2 separate regions of the Homo sapiens genome follow, and region 1 is linked to region 2. Evidence: promoter capture Hi-C in 16 types of primary human blood cells and fetal thymus (Javierre and others, 2016). All regions are on one chromosome and are shown on one strand. Each heading gives the region's core, a stretch centred on a gene start or on the middle of the fragment in contact. The rest is flanking DNA. Distances are from core to core; before and after follow the strand shown. Region 1 holds the start of SLC2A13 (solute carrier family 2 member 13). Region 2 holds the start of CPNE8 (copine 8).

Region 1 (5,593 bases), core at 1,073-3,572, 1.2 Mb after region 2:
GCTGAGAAAAGAATCGTGGTCACTTAAACAGCAGGTTATTTGTTGAAGGGTCCTGAAGGCCCAAGTAGTTTCCACACAAATAGGTTTCATTTCAGCTGGATTTTTTGGTCACTTTGGATATTTTTGTGCCAACTTAATATGTTACGGAGAGCTTTGCCCTACCTTTGCTAATTAACAGTACAATAAACAGCAAAAGGAAGGTCACTACTGACAAACTTTGAATATAAAGTGCAGTGAGCTGGGTTTTAGGCTCATGGTTCCCGCATGTGGAGTTGAATATATGGCCTTTGCTTCCCTTCAGAACCCACAGAGAAAGGGTGAAAAGCACAAACATCAAACAAGTGGTGAATACACAGATCAGCAGCAGCCCCAGGTTTAAAGCGCTTTCATCAAGCCCCAGCCATAGGGAAGAAATACTTCAACAGCACCCTAAGGGAAACAAAAAACTGAATTATGAAACGAAACATTAAAAAAGCATCAGCGGTGTGTCTTAGAAAAATTACTAGTGAGATTTAAGTCACAGCCCCCCACTTTCCCTCAAAAGTGCTTTCTAATAATACAGAGCACATTCCAAATAGCTTCCCTCTGCCAAAAACTTGCCAATTGTACCTCCCCTGCTCAGCAACCAGGGTGAAAAAAATTCAACGCCAGGAGAACCTTAATGCCTTCATTTTTGAAGTAAATTCCAAACATTTATCTTGCGGGGCATTTATCCACAGGGGGAGTAGCTCCTAAATGAATTAAGGAAGTGAATATGACCTTTAATAGATAATTTGGTTCCCAACTGGAAAGCAGGAGAGGAAAAACAAAGAGGAGAATGGATAAAAAAGGATTCAAATGAAAAAGTTGGAAAAACAGAGGAGAATGGAATTTACTTGGGAAAAGAATGAAAGCTGAAAGGCAATAGAAAAAGCATAAAAGCAAAAGGAGATGCCATCTAAAGACAAATGCTAGATAAGCAAAGAGGGCAGGGGTCGCTAATAAACCTTTCAGAGTCCAGAATTACTTAACTCTAAATATTATCTCACTGTAACTTGACGATGGTCTAGGTTCCAGGCTGGGAGCCCCAGAAAACGAAAGGGGCTAGCAGTGGAGAGGCAAGGTGGGACAGTGCAGGAAAGCAGAGACCCTCGTAAGCTCAAGAAGCAGCATCAGGTTAGGCTGGATCAAGGAAAGAGCTGGTGCTCAGCTAGGTTTCTGGAAGTGCTGAGAGGCAACAACCACTTGGACTGACTGGTCCGTGGCCTATCAAAGATTCCACGTGCGCTCGAGGGAGACTAGAGTGACACCCCCTCCCCCCCGACCCTCCCACCTCCCGGGAGAGCCTTGGAGGCTGGACCAACAAACAGATGGGCTCTGGAGGCCAGAGAAGTGGAGGATTCTCTGACCCTGGGAGACCAGACGGGGACCCCGATGGGCAAGAGGCACGCAACACCCAGGGTCAAGGGCGGTGACAATGGGATCCCGGGCGCCCTTCACGGAGCCCGAACTCACCGATGCCGAGTCCCACGACCAGGCGGCCGGCGAGCAGTGTCTCCTTGTTGTTGGCCGCAGCCAGCACCGCGGAGCCGGCGGTGAAGAGGGCACTGGCCAGGAGGATGGCAGCGCGGCGGCCGAAGACGCCGTTGAGGGCGCCTCCGGCCAGCGCCGAGACGGCAGCCGCCCCCACCGTGCTGGACACCAGCAGCTCCTGCCACAGCGCGTCCAGACTGAGCTGCCGCTTGAGCAGCAGCATGGCCCCTGACACCACCCCGGTGTCATAGCCAAACAGGAAGCCGCCCAGCGCGGAGAAGACGGCCACCACGTACACGAAGGCGGGGGTCTCGTCCTGCTGGAACTGCCGCCGCGCCGCGCGCTCCAGGTCCCCGACGCCGCCGCCGCCCGCGCCCGCGCTCTGCAGGCTGGTGCTCGATTCGGCGGCAGCCAGGAGGCTGCACTCCCCGGCCGCGCTCGCCGCGTCCGGCTCCGGCTGCTTCCTGCGCCGCTCGCCCATCAGGCTGCTCAGGCTCCGCAGCGTGTACTCCACATTCTCGCTTGCCTTGCGGGACATAGGGCAGGGGCCCGGGGCTGCCCGGGGGGACGCGGCTCCGCGGGCCGGCAGTCTCGGCGAGCTAGACAGCCCGAGCCGGCGGGAGCAACCGCCGCTGCCGCCGCTTTCTTCCTCCCGGCTTCCGCTCCGGCTGCCACGGCAGCAGCCGCCGCCACGGCCGCTCCGGGGAGAAAGTTGCTGCCCGCCGCGCTCCGACGCTGCGGAGTTGGAGCCCGGCGGGTCTCACTCCACACTCACGCCCCGCGCCTGCCGAGCTGGCGCTGCGGAGCGGGCGGGAGGCGGGACCGCGGGTCACGTGCAACCCCGGGCCGGCGGGGCGGGGCCCGGGAAACGTCCCGCCCCCTCCTTGGGCGGGGCCAGGCTCAGCCCGCCCCGGACCCCTAAACCCCGCCCTCCCGGTGGGTGCGACCTCTGACCTAGGCTCCCTCATTTAGGGCTCTGGCAACCGTATGGAATTAACCCTGCCTTCCGAGCTGCAGCGGTGGAGCAAGCCAATGTGGCGATGCCATCAGGCAACAGGCTTCCAGACGGGAAGCCACCCAGAATGTTTGCCGTGTTTGGAGAGGAGGGAGAGAGCACCTAAACCAGCCTCACTGTCCTTCCAGCAGCCTAGAGAGAGGGCTGGAAAAAATATCCTAGAATAGGACCTAGCAAGTACCCTTCCTTTTATAGTATTGTGACATTACCCAGCGTGGTCTACTTCCCTGGCATTAAATGTGTTTGTTCTGGAGCAATTCAGGGCTGCATGCTCCCATTTCTATAGCTAGTTTCCACTCTCATCGCCAGTCCCTCCTCAATTTATGCTTATTTTAAAGGAATGGTACATTTGATTCTTTGAGGACAGAGAACATATCTCTGTGGTGAATCCCAAACCCTCCTTCCATGGATCCCCGACCTGTAAAAGAAAATTCACATATATGCATTCCACTCATGTAACGGGTAATTCCCAGAAATAGAAAGAAAACTCAAGACCCTGATTTGTGATTCGGCAGGCAGTCTCCATTTCCCCGCCCCAACATGCTAACCAAAAGGTAGGATAGCTTCTCTCCTGAGAATCCCCACTGTTGCCCTCCATGAGGCACTGTTTTAACAGCCTCATTTACTTGAAACAAAGCAAAGATAACGTTATTTGCAACCAATTTTTTAAACTGTTGAGTGAATTAACAGTTGTTGGTTCATTTGGGGTTTGTTTCCCCCTTTAATTTAAATGTTTTTAAAATATACAGTTGCGCATCAGGGGCTAAAGATAGTTTGTTTTGTTTTGTTTTGTTTTTGAGACAGATTCTCGCTCTGTCGCCCAGGCTGGAGTGCAGTGGCGCTATCTCGGCACACTGCAGCCTCCGCCTCCCAGGTTCAAGCGATTCTCCTGCCTCAGCCTTCCTAGCAGCTGGGACTGCTAAAGATGTTTTGTGCCTCTAATTTGCTTTCATTCTTCAGGCTGAGGGCAAAAAGTCAAGCATCATATGATTCTATTCCTACAATTCCACTGCTCTTTTATTTCCCTTATTTGAGCAAAAGCTTTCTTAGCCTGGGGCCTATTTTTCATGCAGCTATAACTTTTTTCCTTTCAGACAAAAGGATTTTGTCATTCCTGTTTCAGTAAAAACTTATATTAGAATTTGTCAAAACTGCTTTCGTTTTGATTATCAGTCACGATTATCTCTACAATATAGTACTTTCCTTGCCAGCAACAAGGAAAAATAAACTAATGAAGCCAGACGGCTTAACTATTTAAATGTTATCGTCTGGCTTTAAAGCAAGGCTCTACCGTCATTCCCAGGCATCAGTTAAACAGAGAGAGCCTTTAGATCTGCAGCAATGAACTCTTTAATATTCAGACCTCGGACAATATTGCAGGTGAGAGCGCGCCTTTTCCGCGGCATGCTACGGTATAGTAAAACTGCGCCCCCTGGTGGTGAGCCAATTCCCACGGCTTCTGAAGAGAAGGGCTCCGCAGATGAGAAGCATCTGGTTCTTTGACAGTTCCCTCTTGCTGAGATGAAAATAAACTACTTTTTGTCTCAGCTGGTGCAGTGAACATCTTGGTTCCTGAGCATTCCTTGCTTGAAATTCAGCTTTGGGGTCATAGAACAAGAAACTACTTTAAAAATTCTGTTCCGTATTAGGACAGTTATGTATCTGCGGTCAGGTTACATTTTAAAAGAAATGTGACGTGAAAAAAAAGGCATCGGAGGCCGGGCGCGGTGGCTCACGCCTGTAATCACAGCACTTTGGGAGGCTGAGGCGGGTGGATTACGGGGTCAGGAGTTCAAGACCAGCCTGGCCAACGTGGTGAAACCCTGTCTCTACTAAAAATACAAAAGTTAGCCGGGCATGGCGGCACGCGTCTGTAATCCCAGCAACTCGGGAGGCTGAGGCAGAGTATTGCTTGAACCCAGGAGGCGGAGGTTGCAGTGAGCCGAGATCGTGCCACTGCAATCCAGCCTGGGCGACAGAGCGAGATTCCATCTCAAAAAAAAAAAAAAAGCTTCGGAGAGTTAAACAGAATTCGTCTCAGCCTTGAGAGGGAGTCCAGTTCAACTTAGCATCAGCGCGTGAGTCTAATATGGAGTTCCCCAAAGTCGGCCCCAGCTGCGGTTTATGATGAACTGGAAAACCCATGGGCTGAGAATCAAAAGAGATGAATGTCAACACCACCATTGTTTTACCGTAAAACTTTCCACAAACCACAAGATTAGCTTGTGCTTTGCTTTTTTTTTTTTTCTCTCATTTGAAGAGCAGATAATGGTGCAGCAACTACTCATTGACGAGAGTGTTAAAGGGTATTTTTGAAATATAATTAATTGCTATTGCAGGGCAAATTTAATTACAAGAGTCATTATTGGTTTGCAGTGAGTTCTATAGTTCCAGCTTTGAGGATATTTGCTTTACAACCTCCAGTAACATGTTCCAAAGCAGTCTAACAATAAAGAAAGGCGAAAAGCCCCTTCTCAATCGTCTTTCCCACCATAACAGACCCCTTTGGCCAGAGATAACCACCTCTACCACTTTGAAATATATCTTTCCAGAACTTTCTCTATGAATTTATATGCATATGTATGTACATGGTAAAATACATATATATATATTGTTGTTTTATTTGTTTGTTTTTGAATTGTTTTGGATGCAAGAGATAGAGAATCGAGATCAAACTGGTTTAAGCCAAAATAATGGGAAAGAGGGAGTACTTATTGTCTATTGTCTCTGAAAACTCTCTAATAAGTTGGCGTCAAGTGCAGTTGGATAAAGGACTAAAAACACCAGGATGTCACACAGACGTCCATTTCTCCACTCTGCTTCCTACTCCTTAGGCTCCATTCTTAAATTTTATGTGGTGCTCAAAGGGCTGTAGCAAACTCCAAGCCCTATACCTGAGATAGTTTGGATATTTGTCCCCATCAAAATCGCATGTTGAGATGTAATCCCCCGTGTTGAAGTTGAGGCCTGACAAGACTAGTTTAGATCCTGGGGGTGGATCCCAAATGAATGGCTTGGGTCATCTCCTTGGCGATAAATGAGCTCCTTTTGAGTTCACAGGAGATC
Region 2 (5,434 bases), core at 451-2,950:
ATCATTATCAGCATGATTATTTCCATAGTCCCAGATCAGTCTTAAGAGGCGGCAAACAATCAGGTGATATAGTTTCAGGGCTAGATAAAGGCTGTCCCCTACCCTCAAATAATACTTCTACTACGGTTGCTGGTGCTCGAATTTTCACCCCCAGAAAAGAATTCCTTTGGCTTTAGGCTCAGTTTGTGAAAATGCAAAGTCAAGATTGATGGAATTTTAAACTTATTTACATCAAGATCACCCAAATTTGTTAGATATCTTCAAGGCAAGTTTGCTAAGGAAAGGAAAGGGAGGATGTGAGGGCATAAAAACAATCTTAGGGCAAAAATGGATAAATGAGGAGCCAGTTTTCCAGTGAGACAGACCCAATTATGCAAACAAGGGAGTGGGCTCCAGGGTCAATATTAATTCGCAAATTAGTGGCCAGTACCAATTTAGCACCATCGCTCATCTCCTTCTCAAAATCATCTATGATATAGCGGTGATGCTGCTTTATTTACAGGGCAACTAACCGAAAGGTCAGGACAACGAGTTTGCAATTTACAGTCTCTGGACAGGGTTGAAAGTCAGTTTTTTTTTGTTTTTTTTTTTTTTTTGAGATGGAGTCTTGCGCTGTCGCCCAGGCTGGAGTGCAATGGCAAGATCTCAGCTCATTGCAACATCCACATCCCGGGTTCAAGCGATTCTCCTGTCTCAGTCTCCCGAGTAGCTGGGACTACAGGCGCGTGCCACCACGTCCGGCTAATTTTTGCATTTTTAGTAGAGACGGAGTTTCACCATATTGGCCAGGCTGGTCTCGAACTCCTGACCTCGTGATCCACCCGCCTTGGCCTCCCAAAGTGCTGGGAATACAGGCGTATAAACTGTACTGAGCCACTGCGCCCGGCCGAGAGTCAGTTTTTACAAGCACTCAGATGTGGGCCCGAAAACAAATCAAAACAAAAGTCGTGACTTCCCAGATCTTAGGTAAGGCATAGATTCGTCTGCAAGGAGGGCCGAAATCTCTACCTATCAGGCAAAAGGCAAAAAGCCCGGAAGGGTCGGGGAGAAGCAAGCTGGAAGGCTCCAGGAAGTGGGTGGGGAGGAAGCTGCCGGGGTTGGAGCCAACCCTAGCAACAGCAGGTTTGCACACGCCTAGCAGAGGAAGTCCCGGGCCTAAGCGTGCAGCGGTCACAAGAGCTTTTGGCAGTGCTGTCCCCTTCGATTCCGGTCATCACCCAACCATCCAGCCCGGGTTTGGGGCGGAAAACCGGCTTGTAAAGTGGGCGGCGGCCGGTGTTCCCACAGCTGAGTCACAGCCCAGCCAACTTTTACAGCGTTTCCCAGAAAGAAAATACAAAGTCTCAGTCCCGGAGCCCACCGCTTCTAATTCCCGCTCCCCTGTGTCACCTGACCCGGGGTAACTCCAGCCCCACTACTGAGATATTTCCCACTCATGGCGCAACTTCTTGCCTGCGCAAAGCCTCGTGGTACCCCGAGCGCTCTCCAAGTGCTACCAACCCCACAGATGAGAGGGCAGGAGAGAGGGGAAGGGCTGCGTCCTCACCTGCAGGACACGGACACCTCCACCCGCGTGGCCGGGATGGCAGCGCTCAGCTGGTTCAAGTCCCCGATGCCCGCAGTGCTGTTGTAGCGGCTGTCCATATTGGGAGGAGGCGCCTTGGACTTGTCCGGCGCCCACAACCACAGCTCGGGCGGACTGAGGGCTAGCTCCCGTCAGGCGGGGATGGGGGTTGAGGGTGGAGGCAGAAGAAGGAGGCGGAGGCAGCGCGCGGGATGGGGGAGGGAAGGGAGGAGGCGGACCTCCGCGCAGAGCCACGAGGGAACCGCTAGCCAGTCCTGGGTGAAACTGACGCTGCCAGGCAAGTGGCGCGCGGGGATCCCGGTTTCCCAGCCCCCTTCCGGCAGGCAGCAGCCCGGGCGGGGGACACACTCCGTGATCCCCTCCTGGCTGGAGGGGTCAGGCTTGGTGGACCCAGCAAGCAGCCTGATGGAGAAGGTGGCACCAGACGCAGACCCCTACCGTCCAGGACCGCAAGCCCTCGCCGGCTCTGCGTGCTTTTAGGTTTTGTCTCCACCTCTGCACACCCACACTCGCCTCCTGGGCCGCGACAGCTTCCTTCTGTCAATCAGGTGTGGACGGGAAGGTCTCGAAGTTTCCTCGCCTGAGTTGAAAGCTGGAGGTGGGGGCACCTCTGCCCGTTCCTAACTGCCCCGTTATAAGGTCCCCCTCCCCACAATTGGTTCTCACCTCGCCCTCGGAGCTCTTGGGAGATCCCTCCGTCCCTCCTACTGTGCCCTCGGGCAGATGAGTCTGGTCCCAGCTTCTGGACTGCCCACTGTCGGCCACTTGAGAGTTGGGGACGGTGGGGCATTGTGACGCTCTCCAACCTTGGAACACGGTGGCAAAGTGGCCGATCAATATATGGGACAAGTGGGGGCGGGGGGGCGGACTCTAAGGTGGAAAAAACAATACTACTTGGGATTTAAGGAAGCAATCTGGATTCTGTCTCCCCTTGGTTCTTCGGAGCTTAGAGGTCTAACGGCGACATTCCTCCTACAGTAAGGGCTCTTCTGGGTCCCTCGTTTCCAAAGGCATGAAAGTTCTGACCTGAAAATGGGGGCCGGGGAGGGTGATGTCACAACCATATAACGCAGCTCCTTCAGCCGACTCCCACCCGCAAGAACTGAGACCTGACGGATAAAAGCAGAGAGGAGTCAGAGTGAGCGCTGCGTTTGGGAAACTGCATTCCAGGGCAGCAAGACTGGTGCCAAGACGGAGTCGTGGCAAAAGCATCCGGAGGTAGACGAGGCGCCCCTCCACTGCAGGGACCTTTGTTCCCCGCGCCTTCCCTCCTGCCTCACCCGAGCGCCTGCGGGTCCCGGGAGCTCGCCACCAGGCGGCGACGGAGAACAGGATGCGGCGCAGCTGGAAGGCAGAGGGTGGAGAGGGGGCGGGTGTCCGTCCGATTTAACGCTCCAAGCACGGAGTTTCCAGCTGGTTGGGCTAAGTCTGGGAGGAGCAGTTTTTGCGGTGGAGGACTTGCCTTGCGTTGTAACATTTTAATCCACTTGCAGCCTCCTGCCTAGAGAATCTATAGAGGCGGGTGAGAGTGTGTAGGTGCAGTCTTGCCGATTCCCCTGCCGAGTGTACTTCCCCTGTTTCTTCTTGCTTTCCTTTCCTGATTTCCCCACCCACCGCTTTTTCTTCTTTTTTTTTCCTTCCTCTTGTCCTATTACAAATTAAACTGTAGTTTACTGCGATTTGGAAATGCCCTAAAACCCCAGGCATTTCTATTATGCTGCTCAAAGTTAATTTGGCATAGAGATCTAGGTTTTTTTTTAAGCTCACCAGAATTTTACTTTACAGAAGCCTACTGAAGAGATGAAACTTGAGAACTTTAGTAGTCAACATGTGGGATACTTACATCCAATTTGTTTCCACTTCAGTGAGGTATAACATATATAATGAACTGCACTTAAAGTGCATCCATCATTCGATAAATGTTGACTCATGTATCTCCCTGTGAAGCCATCACCAAAATCAAAATAATGAATCATTCCATCACCCAAAAGTTTTCTTACGTCGTAATCAGTACCTCCTTTCATCACTGAAACAACCCTCTAAGCAACCACTGATCTTTATGTCACTATAGAAGAGTTTGCATTTTTAAAAATTATGTATGTGGAATCATAAAGCAGGTAGTATTTTTGGTCTGGCTTCTTCCACTAAGCAAAGTTCTTTTGAGATTCATCTATGTTAGCATCAATAGTTCATTCTACTTTTTAAATATTTATTCATATATACAAAGAAATAAATTTTTAATTTATTTTAAATTAATAAATTTCATTTATTTAATGAAATAAATTTTTAATTTATTTCATTGTATATATGCGCTATAAATTGTCCATTCACCTGATGATGGACACTTTGGTTGTTCGAACTTTGGGCAATTACAAATGAAACTGATATGAACATATATGTACAACTCTTTCTGTGGACGTATGTTTTCATTACTTCTGGGTAAGTACCTAGGAGTGGAACAGCTGGATCATATGGAATGTGTATGTTTAACTTTTTAAGAAACTATTAAGGCCAGGTGCGGTGGCTCATGCCTGTAATCCCAGCGCTTTGGGAGGGTGAGGTGGGCGGATCATGAGGTCAAGAGATCGAGACCATCCTGGCTAACGTGGTGAAACCCTGTCTCTACCAAAAATACAAAAATTAGCCGGGCATGGTGGTGTGCGCCTATAGTCCCAGCTACTCCGGAGGCTGAGGCAGGAGAATCTCTTGAACCCCTGAGGCAGAGGTTTCAGTGAGTGGAGATTGATCGCGCCACTGCACTCCAGCCTAGGGACAGAGCGAGACTCTGTCTCAAAAAGAAAAAGAAACTATTAAACTTTTTTTTCAAAAGAGTTTTACTACTTTTCTTTACCACAACAGTATATAAGAGATCTGGTTGCACACATCCTTGCCAACATTTATGATGGTCTTTTAAATTTTAGCTTATCTAACAGATGTGTAGTAATATCTCATGTGGCTTCATGACAAATGATGTTGAACGTATTTTCCTATGTCTTTTTGCTATGTGTATACGTATCTTCTTTGGTGAAGTGTCTTCATATATTTTACTTATTTTTTTATTATGTTGTTGGTTTTCTTATTTCTGAGTTTTGAGAATTCTTTATTCTGTATCCAAGACCTTTATCGCATGTGGTTTACAAAATATTTTCTGACAGTCTGTGGCTTGTGTTTTCATTCTCCTGTCTATCAAAGAGAAGAAGTTTCTAATTTTGATGAATCTAGTTCTTCAACGTTATCTATTATAAATCATAATATTGATGTCAAAACTAAGAAATATTTGTCTAATGTGAGATCACAAAAATTATCATCTTCTATACTTTCCCCTAAAATTTTAGTTTTAGGTTTTACGTTTATCTCTATAATTTATTTTGGTTTTTCTAATCAAAGTTCTCATTTTTACACATTGTCATCAGATTTTGCTAGCACCATTTGTTGAAAATACTACCCTTTTTCATTGAAAAATCTTTGCATCCTTTGCCAAAAATTAACATATATCTATGAGTCCATTTTTTAGACTCTATCCTATTCCATTTACCTATTTGTCTTTCTTTAAGCCAATGCCACAGAGTCTTGATTACTATAGCTTTAAAATAACTCTTAAAGTCAGGTAGTATAAATTTTCCAACTTTGATCCTCTTCAAAATTGTTTTTTCATTTTTAATCCTTCTCATTTTCATATAAATTTTAGAATCAGCTAGACAAGGTCCACAAAAAGTCTTGTTGAGATTTTCATTGGGGTTGCATTGATTCTATGGACAAATCAGAGAATAATTGACATCTGATCCAAATTTATCTTCTGATCTATGAACATTATATATCTTTCCATTTATTTAGGTCTTCCTTAATATA

The links. The method cuts DNA at HindIII sites, captures the fragments that hold promoters and counts their contacts. A CHiCAGO score of 5 or more calls a contact.
Region 1: the fragment with the promoter of SLC2A13 here is called in contact with the fragment with the promoter of CPNE8 in region 2 in 1 of 17 cell types (total CD8 T cells); the score reaches 5.7 in total CD8 T cells.

The regions. Positions count from the first base shown.
Region 1 is chr12:40,103,759-40,109,351 of GRCh38, forward strand. It overlaps SLC2A13 (solute carrier family 2 member 13), which reads right to left and starts at 2,323. Exons shown (of 10, transcript NM_052885.4): 1 at 1,495-2,323. The coding sequence starts at 2,050. RefSeq lists silencers at 1,757-1,846, 1,857-1,926, 1,947-2,206, 2,227-2,476, 3,858-3,987 and an enhancer at 3,477-3,646. The HindIII fragment of the contact is 3,714 bases long and covers 1-3,566 here.
Region 2 is chr12:38,903,891-38,909,324 of GRCh38, forward strand. It overlaps CPNE8 (copine 8), which reads right to left and starts at 1,701. Exons shown (of 20, transcript NM_153634.3): 1 at 1,547-1,701. The coding sequence starts at 1,644. It overlaps CPNE8-AS1 (CPNE8 antisense RNA 1), which reads left to right and starts at 1,822. Exons shown (of 2, transcript XR_007063275.1): 1 at 1,822-3,107; 2 at 5,420-5,434. RefSeq lists a silencer at 1,686-1,855 and an enhancer at 2,986-3,245. The HindIII fragment of the contact is 5,959 bases long and covers 1-5,434 here.